4 separate regions of the Homo sapiens genome follow, and all the other regions are linked to region 4. Evidence: promoter capture Hi-C in 16 types of primary human blood cells and fetal thymus (Javierre and others, 2016). All regions are on one chromosome and are shown on one strand. Each heading gives the region's core, a stretch centred on a gene start or on the middle of the fragment in contact. The rest is flanking DNA. Distances are from core to core; before and after follow the strand shown.

Region 1 (3,141 bases), core at 506-3,005, 260 kb after region 4:
ATGATGGATGTACTTGTAATGCCTATACATTTCTGCCTCGTGTGATAATCCCTTCCCTTCCCCTGGAGCACAGTCATGTTTTAAGATTGGCAACTATTTTATATCCTTTTGAGGCATGTTTGGGTGATTGGAAAGGGTTCAGATCTTGAAGCTGGACAGAATCTGATTTCTAGCCTTAACAAATCATGCAATGTTCCCGGGCCTCAATTTCCTCATCTATGAAATGGAGATAATATCTTTGTGGCAGAATGGGCAGAGATTATCCTGGCCTAATTCCCCTTGTATGCCCAAAGACAAATGCCTGGCACAGGCAGACGCCTGCATCCCAATGCCTGGCACAGAGTTGGCACCCAATGCACAAGAGCTATTGTTATTATTACTCTTAATAACACAACAAAAAAACAAAACAGTGGATGTTACTGACCAGAGCAATTTCTAATTCCAGCTTCATTATTTCAGATTAACTCAGCTGTTTTCCCCTCTTCTTATAGAATTCAAAAGAAAAGCCCTGAGATTTTGGCTCCAACTTCTCAGTGATACTTTTGGCCTTAGGAATATCTATTAAGAGTTTGCGATCCAAGGAGAACTATTAACACTGGCGTGGAAAGGGAAATTAGGAAGTCTGAATGAAGTAAAGGTCTGCTTGCGCATATAACAAGACCATTTTTCCTGCAAATATTATTTTCTTGGCTCTCAGGATCTTTTGTCCCTTTCTCTGTAGGCTGGGACCTCTGGGGCAAAGGACAGTGAGGGGCCCACACATGTTTAAAGAACAGGCTGGTACATCCTGTCCTTGCTACAGAGCCTGGCACATCAGTAGCAAAACAGACCTCTCTTTTGACACACTTTCTTTGAGGATTCTGCCAGACCCAGGCTTGCTGCTGAAGCCACCACTGAGCCTTCCTCTCGGCCTGGGCTGGTGAACTGCATCCCGGAGCCCCCTGGTGGTCCTTTCCATACTCACACCTCATTCCCACACCCTCTGGGGCAGGGAGAAAACGGCCTTAAAAGACCCACCCAAGGGTTAATCTCTGGTATCCATCATCCACTGGGGCACCCCATTTTCTTAGGATGAAGGCAACATGCTCTGTGTTAAAGATGGTATAGAAATGGCACCTTTCTCTAACATCAAGAGTCATTCATTAAGCATCTCTTAAGCACCTACTGTGTGCCAGGCTCACGCTGGACATGAGGAATAGAGGATTATGACTCAGCTCCTGCTCTTAAGAAGCTTCCAGTGTACAGGAAGAGGCAGACATGAGAGCTGAGAAAGACAATAGAGAGATGTGCCCAGGGAACCCTAGGGACAGTGTCAGTCTCTGTAAGGAAAGTGGGAATTGCATCAGGGAGGAAGGATAAGTTAAACTGGATCTTAGAGTCTTTGCATAGAGATTAGAAAGAAACTAGGCAGGCAGAGAAAGGAGGGAAGGCATTCCTGGGGGATGAGTCGATATGCCTCAATGCCCGGACCTATTAGGGGAATGCTGAGAAGCTGGGGGTGCCTGCAGCAGGAAGGAGTGATAAAGCAGGCTGGTGATGTGGGCAGGGCTTGGAGTGAGAAGACCTCGTAGGTCACACCAGGGAGTGTAGACTTGATCTTCTCCAGTGATTTTTCAAACCATGTTTTTAGACTCCCCATAAACATCTGATTCTAATTTCATGGATGCTGAGACCAAGGGAAAACTGGAGTGGTCATCCATAATCTGCTAACTTTACATTTCTGTGTTCAATTCCGTCTAACCATGAGAAGAATATCAGATAAATTCTAGTAGAGGGGCATCCTACAAAACACCTGACCAGTACTCCTAAAAAGTGCCGAGGCCATCAAAAACAAGGAAAGTAAAAAAGCTATTATAGCCAAGAGGAACCTAGGGAGGCGTGACAACCTAATGTACTATGGTACCTTCCCTGGTGGAACCCTGGAACAGAAAAAGAAATCTATTAGGGAAAAACTAAGGAGTTTTGAATAAAGTATGAACTTTAGTTGATGATTATGTATTAACATTGGTTCATTAATTATAATAAATGTACCATACCAATGTACAATGTTGGCAATAGGGGAACTGGGTACAGGGCCTATGGGAACTCTCTGCACTATCCCACAATTTCTTGTAAATCTAAAACTGTTCTATTAGGTTGGTGCAAAGGTAATTGTGGTTTTTACCATTAAGATGGCAAAGATCGCAATTACCTTTGCAGCAACCTAATAAAAAGTGAAATCTGTTTTTAAAAATCCTTTGTTCATCCAAACAGCCAAATTATTGTCACTGATAAGCTTTATAACTGTTATAAGTTAGAACTTAGAAAATTAACTTGTGCTCTAGTAACATTAGCTAACATTTATTTGGTAGCTATACCAGGCCAGGTACTCTGCTAAGTACCATACTTGATCTCCACAACAGCCTCATGAACTAGGGATCGTCAGTATCACACCCCCATTTTACAGCTGAGAAAAGTGAGGTACGGCGAGGTTAGACAGCTTGCCTGAGGTTATACAGGTAAGTGGCAGAGCCTGCATTTGGACCCAGGTCTGTCTGATGCCAGAGTCCAGATGCTTAATGATGAACATTCCATGCGATACTTTATTGAAAAAGAAGGGTCCACATAACTTTCATTTATTTCTTTCTTTTTAACACTGAAAGCCATAGCTATAGATGGGGTGGGGAGAAGAAGGGATCCTCAGTAGTTTTCCACTGGAGGAGGAACTAGGTCAGAGTTTGGTTTGGGAATGAACATTCTGGCAGCTACAGTGTGAAAGATGGGCTGGCGTAGGCACTGGGCTCCTGCTGCTGAGATTTTCTAGTGATGTCTCCAAAAGGAGGAGGAGAAGCAACGAGAGAGAATGAACTTCCCTAAAAGGATAAAGCAAAAGCCCTCGTATAGCAATCCTTCGGATCTAGACCCAACCAATCAAACCACAGGCATTGCTGAGCCCCTGAATGTATGCCTGGCACAGGCCTGTCTCCACAGACAGGAGCCGACAGTAAAGAGAAAATAACCGCAGCCCAAGAGATGGAGCAGCTGGCCCGGAGTCCCTGCCGGGGGGAAAGGCAGACCTTGGAGGGAATGCTTCCTGTGGCCTGGGGTAGGCAGGGGTGTTCCTGGAGGAGGCCTGTGGGCTGAGCCCTGAAGATGAGGAAA
Region 2 (3,003 bases), core at 482-2,981, 380 kb after region 4:
TGCAGTGAGCTGGGATCATGCCACTGCACTCCAGCCTGGGTGATAGAGTGAGACTCTGTCTCAAAAAAAAAAAAAGATACAAAATTTTATGTACAACTTAGTAAAAAATATTCCTATGGAAAGAAAGAAAATAAATGAGAAAGTGGTCGTAGGGTTATGGTTGATTGGTCTCTTTTCAACTTTCTATAATTTCAAAACTAATTTTTTCAGATTTTTTTCAAATTTTTTGCCTTTAAAGTTTTCCTACTTTTGTTAGTATTTGAGAAGCAAAACGAAGTGAAAGATGCCTGCTTGTCGATGCAATGAAGATTACTAACTGCCCAGCATGAAGGGCAGACATTTATCAGGACAGAGCCACTTACCTGCACCTCCCGCTGTAGGAGGAGGAGGAGGAGGAGGAGGAGGAGGAGGAGGAGGAGGAGCTGCCTGGCGCAGGGAGGTGCTTTTGAAAGGCTGCAGCAGCTTCTCCAGGGCCTGCGCACTATCTTCAGGCAGCACCTTCCTCTTGGGGCTGCCAAAGAGGTCCCTGATGTCCTTTCTTTGTCTGGATTCTTGGAGGAAACTCTCAAAAGATTTGTCTTTGAGTCTGAGGGAGGAAAAAAGTGAGATTCTTTTCTTTGGAGGCTTAGAAGCATCTGGGAAGTTCTCTTGCAAACTCACTTTCTCGAGGAGTGTGGGGACATCTTCAATCTTGCTGCAGGGTGGGGACCTAAGTGCAGGAAAGACCTTGGATGGCCGATTGGGCAAACTGTGGGTGCGGAGGGCAGGGTCAGGAGGGCTAAAGGCTGAGGACTGGTTTCTCCCAGGGGAATGCTGGTCCCCGTCTTTATTGGAATTGGTTTTCCGAAGGCTGAATGAGCGAGTGCAGGCCTGTGCGGGCAAAGTTTTGGATTCTTGCTTGGCCCAGGCCTTCTTCCCGCCTTCAGAGTTGGAAAGGAGGGGCTCTAGAGACCTTCGGATGGCATTGGCTATGAGCCGCAGTGGGGACTTGGGTGGAGGCACGTTTCGCTCCCCTTGAGCTTGTTCCGCAGGGGTCCCCATCTTCTCCTGGGCCCCTCTCTGGGTTGGCAGGGGCTCTCCTGCTGCCCTAGGGAGCAGCAGGGGGCGGACTGGTTTTAGCACACGGCCTCCTCTACCATTCTCAGCACTTTTCTGGGAAATTCGCTCCCCAGCTTTGAGGTGCACACTCTCAGGGATGGAGTCATTCCAATCCAACAACATGGTCTTCTGCTCCTGAGTGAGGACTAACTTCTTCAGGCCCAACTTCTCCTTTACCAGCACTGGCCCTCCCTCTTCTTCCTTCCTGGCTCCAGTACTCCCTTTTTCCCGGTCTTCTCCAGCCAAGGGAGATAGCTCTTGCCCTGTCCAGCTCCTGTCCTTCCCCCAGATGGGGTGTGGGTCTCTGTGGTTGCTTCCGATGTCCCCAAGAGGGGCCTCTGCTGGCTGGCACTCATCAGAAGTCATCTCTGCAGGGTCTGAGAGGCCATCTTCACCAGGGCTCACCAGGCAGTACTCTGCCCACTCTGGCTTTGGGTGATGAGGCAGATACAGGGGAATTTCCCTGGGTGCTCCTTGGGCTACGGCTCGCCTCCGAAAGTTTGGGGTGGGAGGACTTGGATGACCTCTCGAGACTTGCGAGAGGGGCTCAGAAGCTGTCATCTAGATGGGATGGGCAAAAATAGCAGTTATTTAAAAATTTTCATCATTTATTTATATGATGAAAGCAAATCTCAATCTACAACCCCCTCCCTGTTTTTTCTTCCCATCTCAGATGCCCAAATTAAAAAATAATTTTGCCTAAGATGATTTTAAAGGGATACTCTTTGTTCTAAGTAGCTGCCTTGGGTCCTGCCAGGATCTGCCTGGAACCCCCGAATCAGTACTGACGAAAGGCTTTTCTGAATCCCAGATTAGCTGGGTTGGAAGCCAGGGGGAAGGCAAAGGTAGGACACTGCTGTTGATAAGCTCCCGGGCCCATGATGGTAGGACTGGCTGGGCCTCTGTGGGTGGCCAGGCACATAGGGGAAGATAAGCTCTTCATTTTCTTGCTCAGCCATTGTCTGTACTAAAAGGCATGATCCACCCATAGGTATGTTCCTCCAACAACCAAGAAACCAAGGCTTCTTCCTTGGAGGCCATCAAAGTAAGAAGCGACAGTCACTCTCTGGGCTGAAGCTGTGGTGGCACAAGGATGGCCCTTAAGACCTTTCAATGACCCTTTTTAACCTCCCACATTGCACCACTGAGAAAGGAGCTATTTCTAGCATGCAGGAACTTGGCCCTTGGCAAAGAGGGAACATGAGTGGACTCTAGGGGTGGCTGTGCCCTCCCAAGACCTCTGGTGCCTGAAGGGCAGGTCATAGCACAGGGGCTTCACCAGAGCACCCATCTTTTCTGTCTTGTGCATTCTACTTTCCAGAGTCTAGAACAGGCCTGGCAGGTAACAGAGGCTTGATAAATACATACAGAAGGAAAGAGTCCAGCCTGCATACCAATGATGACATTTTATATTCAAGGGAGATGTTGCTTCCAAGGTTCTTGGACCCTACCAAAGGGACCCTCACTTCTGTGCCTGCCATCCTACAGCTGCAAATTCCTCAATGCCCTTTGCAAGTTCTCAAGGGAAAGGTGTCCTAGCAGCTCTGTATCTCATGGAGACCTGGCATGGAGTCTAAACCCTGTAAAGTTTGCTGAGGGAATGACTGTGTCCTCAGGGATGGCTGTGAAGGAACAGCAGGAGCTTTTGTGAAAGGTATACATGAAGGCAGCTGGGGTAGACCCTTGACAGAGTATCTTCTGGCGCTGGCTTTGCACTTAGGTTGACCTATGAGCACGTGGAATCCAGAGATAAGTGTGGAAGGTGGGAAGAGTACAGGTAGGTTAGCTTCCTGACACCTGGGCAGGACCCTCAGGGACACTCACCTGAGGCGGGGAGGAACCATCTGGAGCATTCCCAGAAACACTGGTTGAAGAAGAAGATGGTGGGGAAGATGAATGGGAAGA
Region 3 (3,026 bases), core at 472-2,971, 310 kb after region 4:
ACCCAGAATTTAAATTATGGGCTAGAGATCACATGTAGCCAATAATTGAGAGACTAATATTAGCAAACCGAATCCAGCAGCACATCAAAAAGCTTATCCACCATGAGAAAAATTATTAATAGTTGATCCAAACAAGAGGAAATACTGAAGTGAATGGCAGAAGGAAAATCATCCCAAGTGAGGGTAAGTATATGGGTAAGCATAAAAGCCTATTCGCTATACACAACAACATAAATAATACAGGATTTAAAAACTAAATCAAAATAAAATACACAAAAGCAGAAGCATTCAAATCGGGAAGTGAATAAATGGAGTTAAGTGTTTTAAGATCCAGGCATTGTCTGGGAAGAAGTAAAAGTAGCAAGTTCTATTGGACTCTGATAAATCAAGGATCATGTTGTAATCTCTAGGGTAACCATTAAAGGAATAATAAAATAGTAACTATAAGTACCAAGATAATGGAACGAAAATTGGAGTCTAGGTGCTCCATTCAGATTTCATAAATTACATGTGATCTGTATCTGTCATATAGAAGGAAGCTTTTCTTTTGTATTCTGTTATCTATTTATTTTACTGGGTTGCTTTTTATTGAATAGCTTAAAAACCCAGGATAGAGGTAAACCAATCATATCAAAGCAAATTAAGGCAAAATTCAAGCCCAAAGTGGCTTTCACTAGGAAAAGATATTCTTCCTAAATGTGAAGGCCATCTGTTATGGGTTGAATTTTGTCCCCTAAAAAAGATACGTTGAAGGTGTAACACCCAGTACTTCAGAATGGGATCCTGGAAGTAGGGTCATTGCCAATGTAATTAGTTGCTAAAAATTGTATTTAGGTCATACTGGAATATGGTGGGCACCTAATCCAATGAGACTTGTATCTTTATGGGAAGAAGAAAATTTGGACACAGATATGCACAGAGGGAATGTGATGCAAAGATACAGGAAGAAGATGGCCATTGGAGTGATGCAGCCACATGCCAAGGGATGCCTGGGACTTCCAGAAGGTGGAGGAGGCGACAAAGAATCCTCCCCTAGAGTCTCAGAGGGAACATGGCTCAGCAGACACCTTAACTTTGGATTTCTAGCCTCCAGGACTGGGAGATAATAAATTTCTGCTGTTTTAAACCTGCTGTACTTTGTAACAGCAGCCCTAGGAGACTCTCACTCTTCCAGATCACACTGACCTCGGAAAGCATTGGGGAGAGGAAAATCAAGAACTTGGTGTCATCTCAGTGGCCTGGGACATGAACCACATACCATCTAAGGGACAAAATGGCATCCCCTGCAGATCAAGATGAGGGTTTTACAAAAGCTCTGGATCCCAACCAATAGTCAGAGTTATTTGACTGCAGCAAAGCAGGAGGGGGAAGAGAGAAGCCAGCCAGAGCCTCTTGAGGATCTCTTTGATCACTGCAAGCAAGATGTGCTCTTAGGATGAAAGGAATGCGTGAGAAATGAAATGTCTGTGGAGTGGGGGTCTTAAGGGACAAGCCTCATTGCATGTCCCCCTTGGGAACTCTGGAATATTAGTGGTGGCCTTTGAAGGTCAGCCTGCCGGTGAGCATGTCCTCCAGGAATTCTACCTGTCTGGGTGAAGGCTGTCCAGGTGGCAGGGATGGAGTGGGAGAATAGGAATTCTCTTGGTGGGCAGGGAAGTCACAGGACAGGAGGAAGTTGGACAACCTCAGCCTTAGTTGGTAACATGGTAGACTGAGGGCAGGGCTGTTTTTGAGGACCACACAGGATGATGCCACTCAAATCGCCTCTGATTCAGCCATGGGGGAATGAGTCCAAAGTTCTTTGAGACAGATGACCTGCTCACCTACCCTTCAGGGGTAATAATGAACTACAGACAGTGGTGGAGAGATTTTCTCACCTCAGCATGATAGCTGAGGGCCAGCTGCAGAAGTGAAGCCCTAAAATCAGTAGTTCCTCCTTGGGTAATCAAACAGAGGAATGAATAACACACAGGTAAACAAGAGCACAGCAATGCTTTTAAGGGCAGAAAGCAGCAGGTGTGAGCCAATGCAGACTCAGCCAGGCAAGGGGGAATACCTGGGGCCCCAGTGATTGTACTGGTGTGTGGTCCATGTCCCAGGCCACTGAGATTATACCCATGGTCTTGATTTTCCTCTCCCCAATTCTTTCCTAGGTCAGTGTGATCTGGAGGAGTGAGAGACCCCGCTTCCATCTTTCTTGGGGGGAGATATTATAGCTATTCATACGTTGGATGTTTCCTCTTAGGGAGGAAGGTTAGAAGTATTATGTCTAACAATGAAATGGAACCAAATCACCAAGGCCAGATGTTGTCTGCTGGAAACACTAAAGGGTATACTTGAAGGAGTATTGGCCAAAGAGCTGTGCAAGGGGCTGGACATCTGGTCAGCAGAGGGCAGTCCAAAGAGATGGTCCCCAAAGAGATTCCACGAGCACTCTAGTGAGTCAGATGAAATCAGAGAGGTGACAGAGTTCTGGGGAGTGAGTTTCCTGGCCTAGTTCACCTGGTAGGTGAGAAGAGCTGAGTTCACAGTAGCTGTTACCATTATCAGGGTCAGAGGGGCTGGGGGAAGGGTGCTGTGATGTTTGGTTTTGCTTTCTTTTATTTCTAAGTGAACTGGGAGAGGGAGTGAGCATGAAATTAGAAAGTGTGCCCTGAAGGCTCAGAGACGGTGAGTTGCAGCAATGGCTGAGAGTCTGCAGCTCTGTGAGTATGAGGATGTCAGCTGAGCCCCAAGGAAAAACTTGCAAAGTGCCATCAGAGGTGGCTGTTGCTTGGAGCTCTTCACTCCCCACATTAGTGCTGGTAAAACAGGAGCTCTCATCTGCAGTTATGTATATTTGTTGTTGATGCTCAATGGAAAAATAAATCCTTTCAAATATTTGATCAGCAGACAAAAGCTTTCAAACAAATGGGGCACCTTCGTGTGGAATGATGGGAGCTCCTGGGACTCATGGGTTGATTACTGTGATGTGGCAATTCTGGTGTACCCTGCACTCATAGTTTAAGAATATGCATGTGCTGGGG
Region 4 (2,899 bases), core at 31-2,530:
CTTTCTTTAAAGCGGGACTCTGGACTTTTGAAAACAAGTGTTGCTGTTACGAACAAAGACTAGAAGTGTACCCAGATTTTCTCCCCCCCGGGGATCATTTCTCTTCCAATCAACAAACAAATCCCCCAGTATTTCCTACCGAAAGGGAAGGGAAGTTTTCCAGGGAGAGTCTCCTCCTGGGTTTGGTGGTAACTGCGACTCAGTCTTTTTTGGACACAATGTTTCTGCTGACTCCTGAAAATTTTCCACTTGAATGTGCAATGAAGCGGCGGCGGCAGCGGCAGCAACAGTCCTGGAGAAGCGGCAAAGACGACCGTGCCCTTTTTCATCTTTGAGAAGAAGGAGCGAACCCCCCGCCAGCGGCACAAGTCTGCGCAGACCCGGGCCGGCCTCGGGGGTACCCGGCGCCGGGGGGCGGCGGCGAAAGCAGGGGGGTGCAGGCCGGCTCCGGGCTCCGAGGCGGCGGCTCTGCCCGCCCGCGCTCGCTCCGAACTTCTGGCTCCCCAGCGCACCCCGTCCAAGGCGCCCGAGGGTGTGTGCGTGTGTGCGCGTGCAGGCGGCGGGAGAGGGGGCGCGCGGGGGGCGCGGCGCGGCCGGCCGGGGGCCGCCTGTTGCCGCGCGGGCTCCCAGCGCGCGGCCCAACTTGGCGTCCTGGCAAGTCGCGCGGCGGCGCCCGGCCGCTCACCTCGGAGGGGGCGCGGGGAGGCGGGTGTGGGGGCCCGGCCGCGGCCCTCCGCGTGCCCGCCCGCCGTCGCACACAAAGCAGAGCCCGCAAAGAAAGAGCGGCCCGCGAGGGACGCGCCGCCGGCCCCCCGCTGCCCCGTGCGCCCCCCGCACCCCAGCATCCGCCCCGCGCGCCAACTTACCTCGGCCCAGGGAGCCACCGCAGCGCCCGGCGAGTCCGAGGCAAACTTCGGCGCCGCTTCCCCCGCCCTCTGCTCGGTGCCCGGCTCCCTCCCCGGCTCCCGGTCCCTGGGCCCGGCCACCCCACCCCTGCCTAGCACCGCTCCTGCCCCGGGGCCGGCTGGCGCGCTGGGCTGCTGCCCGCGCTCCGGGCAAAGGTGGAGGGGTGGGGGGGCGTCACTGCATGGCCTGTGCCTGGACGCGGCCGCCCCGGGCCCGGGCCCCGCCGCGCGGAATGGCCCGCAGGGTGGAAGCGAGTCTGCAAAGTGCTTGGTGGGCGCCCGCGGCGGGCGGCGGGGCCGCGGCGGCGGCAGCAGAGGCTCGGCTCGGCTCAGGCGGCGCGGCGCGGCGCGAGCGATGCTAAGAATGTTCGGAATGAGGACAGGAATGAAATGAACGCCAGGACCGAACTCGCTCCGGAGGGGTGGGGCCTCGGTGACGTCATGCGGCCTGCCGCCCGGGGCTGGAGGCGGGGCCTGCCGCCGCCGGTGACGTCATGGGGAATCGGGGCGGACCGGCGCGGCTGCTTCGCCGTTGGGGCGCGGGCTTTCGGCAGCTGGGCGGAGTCTCGCGCCCACGGGGGAGCGTGGCTCGCGCGGGAGCCGCCCTCCGTCTCCCGGCGCGGGCTCCGGGCTTTGTCCCGAGCCGGGGCGGGGCGGGGCGGGGCGGACGGGAGCTGCGCGGCTTGGAAGTCCCTGCGCTCGCGCGAAGAACTCTGGAAGCCTGGGTTTCTTCCAGGGGGCAGGCGCCGAGGCGGGAGTTGCGCGCGACGCGCCTACCGTGCCTCAGTTTCCCTAGTCCGGGACGCGGAAGCGCGGGTGACTGCGTTGAGTGCTCCCGGACTCGCGGAAGTCTGCAAGTGTAGGGTAGAGAAGTTGCCTTTCTGGTGATGCAGATTGTTGCTCTCGAGCGCGGTGGACGCCGTCTCCGGGCCAGATTCCCAGCCTGCCATTTCTTCTCTTCCCTTTCACTTTTATAAAAGTTCACAGCTCTCACTCAAGTCGAAATCTGTCTTACGGTTGGGAAAGGAAAACCTTTAGCTTAGCAAAGAAGGATAATTACAGAGTTCGTAATAAACCTGCCCTGCTAGCAAGGTCTTCTCCAAGTCAGTTAAAAAACTAAGTTCACTCATCTCTGCCGGTTGTACTTTTCAAAAGTAACTTCCTAAACTTTGAAATGCTGCATCCGGCGACTTTAAGTTAGCCCTTTCATTATTGAGAAACTTCATTTCATTATTAAAGGAATCATTTTAACCCTGCCATTGGAGGTAGTGACGCAAAAGTGACATAGACGCAGTCGGTAAATCAGAAAACGGGTAAAATCGACCCACTGGGGACAGAACCGTCTAAAGTTTCGGGTGATTGTTATAATTATTTAACAAACTGCAAAGCAGTTCCCGCACAGTGGACCTCATTCGTTCTAGGCACTTGGCTCTCTTTTCCAGCTGAGGCCTCAGGATTAAATAACAACATATTTTGTGCCCGAGGAATCCCTATATCCCTATATATGGGTAACTGAGGAGACTAGACTGTGACTGAGTGCAACACATTTCTACAAAACATAACTTTTACTAATACATTGTTTTCCTTTTTTTTAATTTTTTTTTTATTTTATTTTTGGAGACAGGATCTTGCTCTGTCACCTAGGCTAGAATGCAATGGTGCGATCTGGGCTCGCTGCAGCCTCGACTCCCTGGAATCAAGCCATCCTCCCTTTTCAGCCTCCCGAATAGCTGGAACTACAGGCACGCACCACCACGCCTAGCTAATTTCTAAAATTTTTTTGTAGAGATGCAGTTTCACCATGCTGCCCAGGCTGGTCTCAGACGCCCGGGCTCAAGCTGTCCTCCTGCCTCGGCTTCCTGAAGTGCTGGAATTACAAAAGTGAGCCACTGCACCCAGTCTTATTAATACATTTTTAATTTCAACTCTTGAAGTAATCGGAGTAACAGGCAGTTGTAAAAAATAATAATAAATCGTTTGTTCACTTTGCCCAG

The links. The method cuts DNA at HindIII sites, captures the fragments that hold promoters and counts their contacts. A CHiCAGO score of 5 or more calls a contact.
Region 1: a fragment that was not itself captured here is called in contact with the fragment with the promoter of TEAD1 in region 4 in 1 of 17 cell types (endothelial precursors); the score reaches 7.1 in endothelial precursors.
Region 2: a contact is called between a fragment that was not itself captured here and the fragment with the promoter of TEAD1 in region 4, in 1 of 17 cell types (endothelial precursors). The highest score is 5.3, in endothelial precursors.
Region 3: a fragment that was not itself captured here is called in contact with the fragment with the promoter of TEAD1 in region 4 in 1 of 17 cell types (endothelial precursors); the score reaches 5.1 in endothelial precursors.

The regions. Positions count from the first base shown.
Region 1 is chr11:12,410,271-12,413,411 of GRCh38, reverse strand. The region is part of intron 1 of PARVA (parvin alpha); the gene reads right to left. Among named protein-coding and RNA genes, the nearest start is that of PARVA, 34 kb to the right of the region's middle. The HindIII fragment of the contact is 1,044 bases long and covers 1,234-2,277 here.
Region 2 is chr11:12,292,217-12,295,219 of GRCh38, reverse strand. It overlaps a transcript of MICAL2 not described here. Among named protein-coding and RNA genes, the nearest start is that of PARVA, 84 kb to the left of the region's middle. The HindIII fragment of the contact is 5,552 bases long and covers 1-3,003 here.
Region 3 is chr11:12,362,562-12,365,587 of GRCh38, reverse strand. No RefSeq gene overlaps it. Among named protein-coding and RNA genes, the nearest start is that of PARVA, 13 kb to the left of the region's middle. The HindIII fragment of the contact is 2,360 bases long and covers 542-2,901 here.
Region 4 is chr11:12,672,802-12,675,700 of GRCh38, reverse strand. It overlaps TEAD1 (TEA domain transcription factor 1), which reads right to left and starts at 1,280. Exons shown (of 13, transcript NM_021961.6): 1 at 867-1,280; 2 at 140-292. RefSeq lists an enhancer at 1-453 and a silencer at 1,289-1,588. The HindIII fragment of the contact is 11,683 bases long and covers 1-2,899 here.